2 separate regions of the Homo sapiens genome follow, and region 2 is linked to region 1. Evidence: promoter capture Hi-C in 16 types of primary human blood cells and fetal thymus (Javierre and others, 2016). All regions are on one chromosome and are shown on one strand. Each heading gives the region's core, a stretch centred on a gene start or on the middle of the fragment in contact. The rest is flanking DNA. Distances are from core to core; before and after follow the strand shown. Region 1 holds the start of SENP7 (SUMO specific peptidase 7). Region 2 overlaps ALCAM (activated leukocyte cell adhesion molecule).

What was found. The method cuts DNA at HindIII sites, captures the fragments that hold promoters and counts their contacts. A CHiCAGO score of 5 or more calls a contact.
Region 2: a fragment that was not itself captured here is called in contact with the fragment with the promoter of SENP7 in region 1 in 1 of 17 cell types (total B cells); the score reaches 5.3 in total B cells.

What each region holds. Positions count from the first base shown.
Region 1 is chr3:101,510,626-101,516,592 of GRCh38, reverse strand. SENP7 (SUMO specific peptidase 7) reads left to right here and starts at 3,381. Exons shown (of 24, transcript NM_020654.5): 1 at 3,381-3,502. The coding sequence starts at 3,463. The HindIII fragment of the contact is 4,750 bases long and covers 2,614-5,967 here.
Region 2 is chr3:105,367,679-105,374,321 of GRCh38, reverse strand. The region is part of intron 1 of ALCAM (activated leukocyte cell adhesion molecule); the gene reads right to left. Among named protein-coding and RNA genes, the nearest start is that of ALCAM, 4.1 kb to the right of the region's middle. RefSeq lists enhancers at 4,391-4,891, 4,892-5,392, 5,729-5,888. The HindIII fragment of the contact is 2,124 bases long and covers 4,181-6,304 here.

The DNA of each region.
Region 1 (5,967 bases), core at 2,132-4,631:
AAAAATTTAGTGAGGCCATTTGGTAGGCACTTTGTTTCCTATGTCAAGTACTCCAGTCGTTTTACGCAGAATAAAATTTTAAAAAAGGAGAACAGCATATACGCATTAAAGAAAATTTGAAATTAGGCTTTTCCAGTATCCTGGATTAGGTGGTGACACAGCTGTAATGACTTGTTCTAGGTGTGGTTATTTCTTAAAAAACAATTGTGAAAATATACATAACAAAATTTACCATTCTAACCATTTTTAAGTGTGCAGTTCAGAGGCATTACGTACATTCATATTGTTGTGTAACCATTACTGACATCCATCCACAGAATGCTTTTCATCTTACAAAACTGTAACTCTATACCCATTAAACAATAACTCCCCATTCTCCTCATCCTAGGCACTAGCAACCACCATTCTACTTTCGATCTCTCTGAATTTGACTTCTCTAGGTTAGGTGTGATTATCTTTAAAGAAGAGGGTGGGTGGGACACCAGAATCATAGATGCAAATAACTTTAATTAGCGTATTTGGATTTTTAAGGAACCCCTTTCCTTTCTAGGATCAAAAGTGGTTACATTTAACAATATTTACATTTTTCACAGGTGATTAGTAAGCTTTTATAAGAAGTAATTTTATAATCTGAGAAGTTAGGAAATCCCCTGGTTACAGAGTAATAATCTAATACAGTAATTATAATCCTTTTTTATATTTAGGAACAAGGTCCTTTTGTATATACCATGCCATTAAGAAGCACAGAATGGAGAATACTTTTACTCAGAATATTTAAAAATATCTAATGATACTTTTTTTTTTTTACAACGAGTAAGTTTTCATTTATTTTCATATTTAGGAAAGCAAAACAAAACAAAAAACCTCTAGAAAATATGTTTGAAAGAAAGAATACTGTTTTGGTACAAAAGCAGCACTATTTTTCTTTTCCCAACACAGAAAGCAATTATGCAGTTTTTTAGAAAAATAATAATGCCTGTATTACAATTCCATTTAGTAAATTGTAGAAAATAATAGTGGTTGTGAAATTATATCTGTAGAAATTTCAAAATAAGATGAAAGTACATAATGTCCCTCCTCACTGTTCACCTCTCCCTAGGGAACAAAAAAGTTGTATTTAATCCACCAGAGGCAAGGACACATAGAAAAAAGAATATTAGAGATAGGAAAAAGAAAAAAGCAGATGTCACTAAGTGTTGGTTTTACCAAATTGGAGTATGCAACAGAATCGTCTGGGAAGTTTATTTTTTATGTTTTTTGGAGACAGGGTATCTGTGTGTCGCCCAGGCCGCAGTACCGTGTAGCGATCATAGCTCACTGCAGCCTCAAAGTCCTGGACTCAAGTAATCCTTAAATCTCATCTTCCCCAGTAGCCGGGGACTATAGGTGTGCTCCACCGTGCCCGGGTCATTTTTTTTTTTTTTTCCGAGACAGTCTGGCTCTGTCGCCCAGGCTGGAATGCAGTGGCCTGATCAAGGCTCACTGCAACTTTTAACTCCATGGGCTTAAGTGATCTTCCTGCCTTAGCCTCTTGAGTACCTGGGACTACAGGCATGCGCCACCACGTGTGGCTAGTTTTTTTCTTTGTAGAGAGGAGGTCTCACTATATTGCCCAGGCTGGTATCAAACTCCTGGGCTCAAGGGTGAGTCATAGCATCTGGCCTGTATATTTTTGTGGAGAGGGGGGTCTTGCTTTGTTGCCCAGGATGGTCTGGAATGTCTTGGCTCAATCTATTCTGCCTCGGCCTCCCAAAGTGCTGGGATTACAGACGCGAGCCACTGTGTCCGGCCCAGCTTGACTTTAGAATCAGTTAAGTTCTTTAGTTAAAAAAGTTAATTTGGGCCAGGCGCAGTGGCTCACGCCTGTAATCCCAGCACTCTGGGAGGCTGAGGCGGGCGGATCACGAGGTCAGGAGATCGAGACCATGCTGGCTAACATGGTGAAACCCCATCTCTACTAAAAAATACAAAAAATTAGCCGGGCGTGGTGGCGGGCGCCTGTAGTCTCAGCTACTCGGGAGGCTGAGGCAGGAGAATGGCGTGAACCCAGGAGGTGAAGCTTGCAGCGAGCCGAGATTGTGCCACTGCACTCCAGCCTGGGCGACAGAGCGAGACTCCGTCTCAAAAAAAAAAAAAAGTTAATTTGTGAGGAAACTGAAAATTCAATTATTTTTCAGAAAGCAATGTTTTTGTTAAACAGAAATTAACCAAATAAAACGAAATCCTTACAGTAAACTTCAATCCCAGCAAGACTTAAAGTATTTCTGCTTTGCAGTCATTCCTGCCATGTAGAACACTTCCCCAGGCCCAACACCCCACAACACCTGGGGCCTTACCTCTACCTGGGGACTGACCACATTATAATTAAGAAGGCTTAACTCACGATGAAGGGGACTGCTCTAGTGGACGAGTTGGGCCGATCCCTTTATTGACTCCGTTAGGATGGGAGATGGGGGTTGGAGGGATAGGCGTTAGGGGTATAAAGGGGCCAGCTTGGGAATCAAACCCTACTTCCAGAGTCCCTTCGGGCTTTGAACATGCCAGAAACATTTTCCCTGCTTAGAGCACTGTGCTGAATTTTGTTAAACTTGTGATTAAATCGTCATGAAAGCTTACACGTGCATTTAAAAATTATTCAGATATGCACCATTAGGGATAATCAGGCTAATAGTACCAGACCTTGAGTTCATTGAGGACTGGATTAGTCCCTTAAGTATCGTGGTAAATGTTAATTGAACAAATTCCAAGTTTATAGCCACCCACTTTCTGTCATATCAGCATTTCAGTTATTGAAAAATTAAGTTCTAGCTTTTCTTTTAAGGAACTTTAAAAATCACAAGTTCGAATTTTAAAAAGGAATCCTAAGACATTTTTCCTCGTCTGCTGACATATTTCCACAGCAAATGCTAAACTAATAGCTAGGCTATTATTAGGTGATTTTGCCATCTTAAAATCTTTTGGTTTCTGAGTTCGAGGAAAGGCGTTGGGGGCAAATATGTAAGAGAGGCTGTGAGGGATGTAATACTGCAAACGCTAACGTTTTGTTTTCATAGTTGTTTGGCCACCTCGCGAGATCCAGTGAACCGGAGGAGTTCCTGTTTTTCCCTTTTAATTTTTGTCAATCTAATCTTCAAAGTCAACAAAGCTAAAATCGAGCACCCAGGTGGTTCACCTCCCCAGAGGGGCTCAGATCATGAAATAAACGCCACCAAAAAAACGCTGGAAGAGGCAGCCCACAGTGAAAAGTCCCAGGAAGTGATTTCCGGTCGAAGGTGGGAGGGGCGGCTGATTTCCGGTCGAAGGGCAGGCGACGGCTCTTGCGCAAGCGCGCTTCGCACTTTGCGGGCTTTTTTTTTTTTTTTTTTTTTTTTTTTTTTTTCCTTTCCCCTCCCCCTCCCTCTCCAAGCCGGAGGGGTCCTGAGGTGACAGCGCCTGCAACTGAAATTTCAGCAGCGGGAGAAGATGGACAAGAGAAAGCTCGGGCGACGGCCATCTTCATCCGGTGAGAAAGGGTCAGAGAAGGGCTGAACATATTGTCTCCTACCCGGGGGAAACGGGAGGCGCAGGCGGCAGCTGGGGTTGCGGCCCGAAGCCGCGGGGGCGAGGGCGGGGGCGGGGAGAGGAAGGGGCGCGCACAATGGAAGGCTCCCGGGTCGCCCCCGCCCCTGGAGTCGAAGACCCGGTCCGAGCTGTCATCGAAGCCTCGGGCGCTCTTCACCTCAAAACCCCTTTTATTTTTTCCCTCCTCCCGCGAACACCCTCCTTGCGTCTCATCGGCCCATGGATCTTCCCGGTTGGCTTGTCACTCTCTGCCACGCCTTCCTCGTAATTCCACCAATGTTCCAATTTCATTTCGGCTTCTCAGCGCCTGACCCCACTTTCCTCTCTTCCTTTGATTCTCGACTTTGCGTCCCTTCCCCTCTCCCTCCTCTTTCCCTCAGCAGGTAGCTGCTGCTGGGGAGGAAAGGTGGGGCTTGCGACCGGAGACTCCTTTTCTTTGATACAATGCCTCTCCGGGTCTCGTTCTGCTGAACAGGCCCGCCTAATAGCCTTTTTCTTTTCCAGCCTACCCTGCGTCTTCCAAAAGTGATTGGAAAGTCAAACAAAGGATTTGAAGCCGTGCTTTCGTTGTGTTTTTATTTTCAGCATATTTTTTGTTTTGGACGTTACTTTGTTTTAAATGACTATCTTCAGTTTTGTGTACAACGTCTTGGAAACAAGAAAGTGGAGTTATAAAAACGTGAGGTAGAGCTCCTCCCAGTTGAGAAGTTTTTATCAAACATTTCATCCATTAGGGGGTCCTCAAGTCCTTGTGTTAAGTCCTATGGATGGTAGGAGGAGAGGACGAGGACTCATATGCTTACAGTCCAGTACACAAACGAACGCCCAATGAATCAATTATTTCATTTCATTTTTCTGTTTCTGATGGTACCGTTGGTTTCTGCAGAGACAGTTAACAATTACAGATTTATTGGCCGGGCGCGGTGGCTCACGCCTGTAATGCCAACACCTTGGGAGGCCGAGGCGGTCGGATCACAAAGTCAGGAGATCGAGACCATCCTGGCTAACATTGTGAAACCCCGTCTCTACTAAAAAATGCAAAAAATTAGCCGGGCGTGGTGGCGGGCGCCTGTAGTCCCAGCTACTCAGGAGGCTGAGGCAGGAGAATGGCGTGAACCCGGGAGGCGGAGCTTGCAGTGAGCCGAGATCGCACCACTGCACTCCAGCCTGGGCAACAGAGCGAGACTCTGTATCAAACAACAACAACAACAAAAAAAAAACAAAAAAAACCAATTCCAAATTTATTTAGGAGTGCCCTGTGGCAGTGCATCTCAAACTGCTTTCAGCCTTAATTGCAAAGGAGAGTGATTATGGATCTCTGGGGACACTGCTTGAAGCAGTTGAAAACCTGAAATCCCTTTTCATATGCAACCAATGTTATCGATGTTCTTGGTGTATATTCTGGAGATAATAGTTTTTTCCTTTGAAAGCACATGTATAAATGATATATATGTATATTTATACATACATGTAGGTATATGCCTCCAACTGATGAGTGTTTTAATAGTCTCCACCCCCCACCAAACCTCTAAGTAAAATGGACACATTAGGAAAACGCACAATGCTTAGCTGGTGTCATTTGCGGGCTTCCTAACACAGAACTTTAGGTGTGATCATATCTTCCTTTGAGATGCACAACCTTTTTTAAATAAATGCATTTCATCTAGGTTTAATACATTTTTGAGGAGGGAAGGTAAGATATTTGCCTTGTAATTCAACAAGTCACGTTCCTTTTTACCTGATTACACTTAGATTTATTTATTTGTCACAGTAACTTGATGTAAGTAGTTGTGGGAAGTGGATTTTGATAATAAAGCTGTTAATCCTTAAAAGACATTGATATTTACGTTAGTTATATCTCTAGAGAGCGTTTTCTTTTTCTCGTGATCTCTCTTTTGGAGCTGTCCTTTCTGAAAAGTAAGGTATAATAAAATCCATACCCAAATCTAATGTTACCTAGCTGTTCTCCAGTATGCCTCTAGTTTTAAGATGTGCACTAATTAATTTTTAAGTATGCTTCTGCTTTTCTTAATAGCGTATATTTAATTTCCTGAATAAATTCTCAGAAATAAAACATTGGCTGGTTGAAAGATTCCGTGTAGTGGTTGTAGGCATGCAGTTGCCATTTCATTGTAAGTTGTTGCTAACTGGAACCCAAATGAAGTGACTTTTTTTTTTTTTTTTTTTTGAGATGGAGTCTCGCTCTGTTGCCCAGGCTGGAGCGCAGTGGCACAATCTACCACCCCTGCCTCCCAGGTTCAAGCGATTCTTCTGCCTCAGCCTCCCTAGCAGCTGAGATTACAGGTGCCTGTCACCATGCCCGGTTAATTTTTGTACTTTTAGTAAAGATGGGGTTTCACAATGTTGGCCAGGCTGGTCTCAAACTCCTGAGCTCAGGTGATCCAC
Region 2 (6,643 bases), core at 3,993-6,492, 3.9 Mb before region 1:
GGCCTCCCAAAGTGCTAGGATTATAGGTATGAGCCACTGAGCCTGGCCCCAGAATTAGGTTCTTATAATGAGTTTTATCTATCTCAACAAAAAGCTATACCTGCTAAGGAGACTGGGCAAGTCATGTCTGCCAGTTAGAGGGGCCACTTACTTTCACCATAAAAGAAAGTGTTTGGATTCATTAAGTATAATAGCTTCAATAACCACATTTGGCCCAACTCCTCTACTTTTTCTGTGTTTCTCCAATGACCAAAGTCTTTTTCATCCTTAATCACAGGTCCTTTACGAATATACATGTTCTTTTCTTTTTGTTTTTCATTAATACTACTAAAGTGCCATCAGGTCTTGATAGCCTGTCCCACTCTGTTCTTTCATGATGGTTTTATTTTCCAGTTCAATTCTCAGTGAGGAATATTATATCCTCAACTCCCAAACTCCTTGAGAAAATTTCTTAGTAATGCATGAATGTCAGGTGCTGCCATATGGAGTTTAATTCTCCACATATGCATTGCTTCTACTGTATTTAATGCAAAGAAAAAATGTGAAGCAGCTTCTAGGTGTCAAGCTCTTAACTAGACTTGAGGATACATAGACAAAGATGATATTTGGTATTCAAAAAATTTATGTTCAACTGAAAAAAGTCACCAATATCATAATACAATGTGGTAAAAACTACAGCAAAGACAAGTACAGGGAAAAGGAAAAGGGAAAAGTTAAGACTCACTTTAGTCATTATCAACATTCCAATGTTGATTTTGCACCAAAGGCAAGTAAGTACAGGAAAGTTTTTTTTTCTTCATTCACAGTTCAAATAAGGTAATCTAGACTCTCTCTAAAACTATACAGATGGAGAGGATAAAAATCTACTTATATCAATTTCTAAGGTGAAAGTATCTTTGAGATTTATCTCCCTCAAGAAAACATTGTGTTGGAGTGCTGGTTGATATCTTAATCTACAAATTCAGTTAACTTCTCTAGTGAAATCATCATAATAAGTTAAAATAATCAAAAATAAAGTCTTTTTTAATTACAAGTTCCAATCTTCCTAACATTTATGGATTTGATATTACTGGTTTTCACTGTTTACTGTAACCCCATAATCCATTATAAGTAGTAATTTTTTTTTCTAAAAGCAGGTGTGTGAAAATCCTACTGGAGAGTCAACCTACCTGGCTGCTAACCCAACTCATAACATGAAAAGGGTATTGCTTTATTATTCATTTATTCATGGAAACTCATATGATGTAATAAAAAACTTGCTTAAGAAAAAGGGCCAGGTGAGGGTAAAATTTTTCTAAAACTTGAAATGTGATTTTGCAGAGCTAAACAAATTATTCATAGTGGAAGTGTCATTGAGCAAAGGCCAGAAGACTACAGCAATTGCCATGGTCATAGTATGTTTTCCTGTGAATGAACATCAAGGGTCTATAATATTTATAGGATTTGAGAAGATTGCAAAGGTTTAGTTTCATCTCATAGATGTTTTTAGTCTTACTTGGGCCAAGATTTTGCATCAGTTCCTTAAGTGATACAGAAAAGAGCTAAAACAATAATAACAGTAATAGAGAAGCAAATCAGAGAAGCTGGACAGCTGTCTAATTTCTGATTAACCTATTCCCCAGCAGTTTAGTTTCATTGTGTTGAAGTACTATGAATTCTTAGACCAGACAAGTATAGACATGTTCATTGAAGTACCTCAACTCAAAGTCAAATTAAGTAATCCTTTGGTTAGAAGATGTTTTGGATTGTGCGCAACTCTGATTTCCCCTTCAATGGAATGGATAATTGAGAACTGACTGGATAAATAAGAGAGGAAGCATTAAAAGCTAATTTCATTCTTGGAACATAGACTACAGTAATGGGCTATGATAATAGGTTAGCATAAAACAATTACTGAATACCATACCACATTTGGAACTAGGCCTATCTGAAATATATAAGGTATTCTATTCAATAATAAGGGAGAAAAGAGAATGTAAAATTTATTATTTAAGCAGAGAAATTAGCTGCATGAAAATATCAGTAACTCCAAAAATATGGTAATGACTTACGTACTATAGGGACACTATAATAATTGTAGGATTTAGATTTAACCTTACCAAACAGCCTGCAATATTCTCTTCCTGAATATAGAATATCTATTTTAGTCTTGAATTTACTCTCCACAAGGAAAGGAAAATTCTACCCTAATAAAAAAAGTAATCAAAAGTATAAATGGATTTTTTTCCATTTCTTATTGAAAATAAACTGAGTTGAAATCCAAAAGTAATAACCAAATAAATGTTATCACCCACCACACCCAAGAAACCATTCTTTAGTATTCCAGTAAGTTAGTTCATTCTTCATATGTCACATACATGTGTCACACACATAATGTGTAAGAAATGAGATTAGCCTCTGTGAATACTTAACAATGAAGAATAAAATTAACACATTGTGAGAAATTGCATTTAAGTTTCTATGTATACATTGAGACAGAGACATATTCTTCTATCATAGCTATACCTAAGTGGATCTTCTGCATATCTGGGCTATAAATTGCATGTGTCTACTTGAGTGAATACCTTCAGGGAGCTAGAACTCTTTGATGGTGTTTTATGCTAAATAAATGGCCAGAACAGAAAGAAGTGTGTTTGGAATTGTAAAACATGGTGATTATAAAGCATTTAAAATACTATCTGACAAACTGCTGCCATCTTACACCAAGTAATATTGACAACTTAGGTGGTACTAAGTTTTACAAAGGCCCACGGTTAGTGGCATGAAAATTTGACGGAGAAAAAGAAAAAAGAGAAAAAAAAAAAGAAACATCTTTCCATTATTTTAATAAAATGATAAAAGTGATAATTAAGTGGAATAAATTAAAGAATGTTATTCTATTAACAATATAATAAAAGCCTTAATTAATATAGCACGTTTTACTTAAAAAATTTGAAATGCTGAGCAAGGGAATTACTAATCTCAACACAATCAGAACCACACATTGCACAGAAAGAAATTCACAGATGGGAAATAAAAAAGAGCAGAAAAATAATTTTCCCAAGGTCACAACATTCTTACATGACATAGTTAGAAACTGAACACATGAATACTGACTACAATATACAATTTTTCTAATAACACAAGACTATTTAATTAATTTTCTTCTTTTTGATAAGTCAATGGTAGACATGCATTTTCATCTGAATGTCTATTAAAAAAGATAAGCTAGTTTGAATTTTTTACAAAGTCAGAAAAGGTTTGGAATCTGGTAAGACAAGATATTTTGGATTTCTACAAGTTTTAAAACAATAGAAAAATATTAGTATTTTCTATTTCCTTCTGTCTTGCATTTACAACCATGTTGCAAATCAACTTTTTGAGCAACTTTAGGATGTACAATATGAGGCTTTGTCATATGAATATTTAAGCATAAACCATAATTTACATCTCATTCTAGGTACTATGTATGCAGTTTATATAGGAACAGGTTTGCAGGAGAGATGAGTTACACTAGCAGGGCTTTCTGAGGCCTACTATCCTTTCTTACTTTTGGGTCCTCTTTTCCCAGGAGAGTGGAAGGCTAATTTCTCTCCTTCACGCTTTTTTTTTTCCCTACTAAGGCTGGAAAGAGTAAGCATAGATGTTATCATGAATTTTTAAAGGTAGAAAAAAAAAGGAAATTAGAAATTGGGGTCTACTGATACTTTTCTAATAATACAATTTATATGAATTTTGTCTAGACTGAGATCCTTAGAAAAATAGTGTTGAAAAATGACTCTGCCTGCCTAAATTGGTTTTTTACCTTAAGACTTCAGAAACAAAGAGTTTTTGAGCTGGGAGACATTTCAGAGAGTAGGCCTCTAGTCTGTCTTTTTATTTTGTATGAGAAAACTGAAGCTCAAAAAGGTTAAATGACTTGCTCAAGTGCCTGAAGGTAGATGTCCTGAAGAAAGCCTAGAAAAGCAATTTACTGCAAATAATGCTCCATTAAATTGTAAATTGCTATTGGATTAAATAAATCCTTAAGGAAAAAATATATATATATTGGCTGTTAAACAGTTTTTAGTTTTTAAATTAATCAATTTCAATAGTCCTACATCAATAGTCTTTGAAAGGACATTATTTGAGTTGATGCTTTCCCAAGTCCTGTTGAGATCAATTGATATGTTTCAAACATAATATCCCACTGAAGAAAGCTTTATGTGTGCTTATGTCTTAGAATGAATCTTATATCAGTGAGATCAGTGAGTAGTTATGAAAAATCCCATAGAGGGGTTCATACAGATGACCCAAGTGAAGAAAGAGTTAACTGCAGCGCCCCATCTCCTTGTAAATAATCCAGAAAAGCATTCTTTTTTTAAGCAATACAAAATGTCACCACAGGCTGACGCTCTTTCTACAAGAATAACGAGAATATTGCTATCTCGGATGTTGAACACACACTTCATTGCCTTCATCTCTGAATTCAGTTTTCGTGGTTCATATATTTTTCTCCTCCTTTCAAAACAGGTAACGTGGCACGCCTAAAATATATCAATGACTTTGTAGCGACTACAAGCCGAAAGACCCGGGGAAGCAGTTTCACAAACTCGAGTTTTTGACCTCTACAACTGGACATACACTATTAAAACTGCTCCGGAAATGAAGAGTGGCCGGCAGGGAAGGCAGTTACCCCGCTCAAATGAAGCCGGCCTTTGGCACCGCGCCCCCACCGGGCTCTGCTATGCAGAGGGCTCCGAAGAAGGCGCACTTACTGTCCAAGACTTGCTTCCTCAGTGTAGACACGGCGCCTTTAGTGCTGTAACCTTTCCTTTCAAAACACACTGATACTGCAATGAGAATTTCGGCAATGCCAGCTCGGTAATTCACCGAAACCACGGATCTGAGGGTCCAGGGCCGATATCGGATCCTCAGATTCACGGTGGCTGGTTGCGGTGAGCCGGGGCTAGCCGCTCGCCGAAAGCGCGCAGCTCGGTGCCCCCTGGACACACGAGCCTGTGGCGCCAAAAGAACCACCGTGAAGGAGGTCTGAAAGCGGAACTTTCCCCCTTTTAGCAGTTAAATGTGTAGAAAAACCTATCCTGCGACGTGGCCCGCCTGTGACGGCACCGAAAAGGAAACTGGTTATGTGCCTGTGTCAGGGGTGTGGACGAGGGTGAGATTACATTCTCCAAGTCTCGAGGGGGTTAATCGGAAAACCAACTGTGGGCGTGTGGACGTTTGCATGTTACAAACCGACATCACCCTTGTCCTCCCTTCTTGGCTCATTCCCTGGCTCCAAAGTGTCCTTTCCTCCATCGGACAGTGGAATCTCGAAAAAGTGAAATCCACACTGTGCCAGGCCCAAGGGGGTCTCGCCTTTCCACCTACCTCCCCAGCGTTGTTACACTAGGACACCTGCTTTAAATCCGGTTGAACTATGGTTTCACAGTCCCCGCCCCAGAGCCCGAGATTTGTCAGAGAACGCAGACGCCTTTTTTTTCCCTCAGCCTCAGAAACATCAGGTGAGCTCATTACCTCACCCAGAAATGTAACTTTAATAAAGAGATCTGGAGAGGGCACTCCTCCCGCCCACACACACAGCAACGGCAGCAGCAGCAGCAGCTCGCAAACACTTGTAATCTCTTCCTCAGGCTCTGGCCCCCAAACCCCTCTCCCCGCCAGTTCCTGGGAGAGATTCAGAGGCTTTCAAACCTCTTCTGTGACCTGAGCTTGCCGACAGCTGAAGGGATGTGCACGGATAAAAGGAAGTGAGATTTTTCTTTGATAAAAGCTAAAGAAAAAGCTAAGAACAAACAGGCCAAAATACCAGGAAGTAGGAGTTTAACTGGCAACTGTCTACGCAGGGATAGAAAAAAAAAACTTCAAAGAAAAAAAAATCCCCTAAATTTTCAGTTTAGGGGAGCAAAGGAACCTGCTGCTCTGTCAGGCAACTGTGAGCGCACGGAATACCCTGTTAGAACAACTTGTGTCAGCCGCCAGGCGGGCCTGAGGATACCAGGGCCAGGGGACGTCCCCGAGGGTGTGGAAAGGGATTTCCCGAGAGATATTTTAGTTGTTGGGAATTTTGCCTTTTCTCTCTCTCTCTCTCTCTCTCTCTCTCTCTCTCTCTCTCTTCCAAGACTCAGTACAGAACTGAGAACTGAGGCTCTATGAGCAGGTCCTGGAAATTCACAAACCTCTCACTGAGGTGTCTCCCAGGCCTACCTACTAATTCCTGTTCTGGCTGTGTTATCTGCCTGCGGTCACCCTTTCACTCACCACCCGCCCAGACAATGGACGGGGACCGCAGGGGGTAACGTTGAAACCACGATTTTAAGCTTTAGCAGGTTTCGCAAGGGGGGCGGGGGGAGGTGATTAAAGTCCTCTCCTTCTCTACCCCTCCCATCCCTTCCTCGGCTCACCAAGGGGAAGTTACTAGGGGATTTATCACGAAAAAGTGCCGGCAGTTATTTCATCCGAGAACTAAGCGAAAGAAAAACTGCTCGGGGCGCAGTGACGTGGACTTGGATACCCAGAGACAGGAGGAACTGTCAGAGGGCAAGAGTCCGCCGCCTAGCTGGGAGCCGCAGGGACAAGGGGAGAGCGTCAGGCGAATCCTGCCCACCCCGGAGCACCAAGTTCCTGGAGATTCACCCAGTTTCCCCAGCTTGATGCCCAA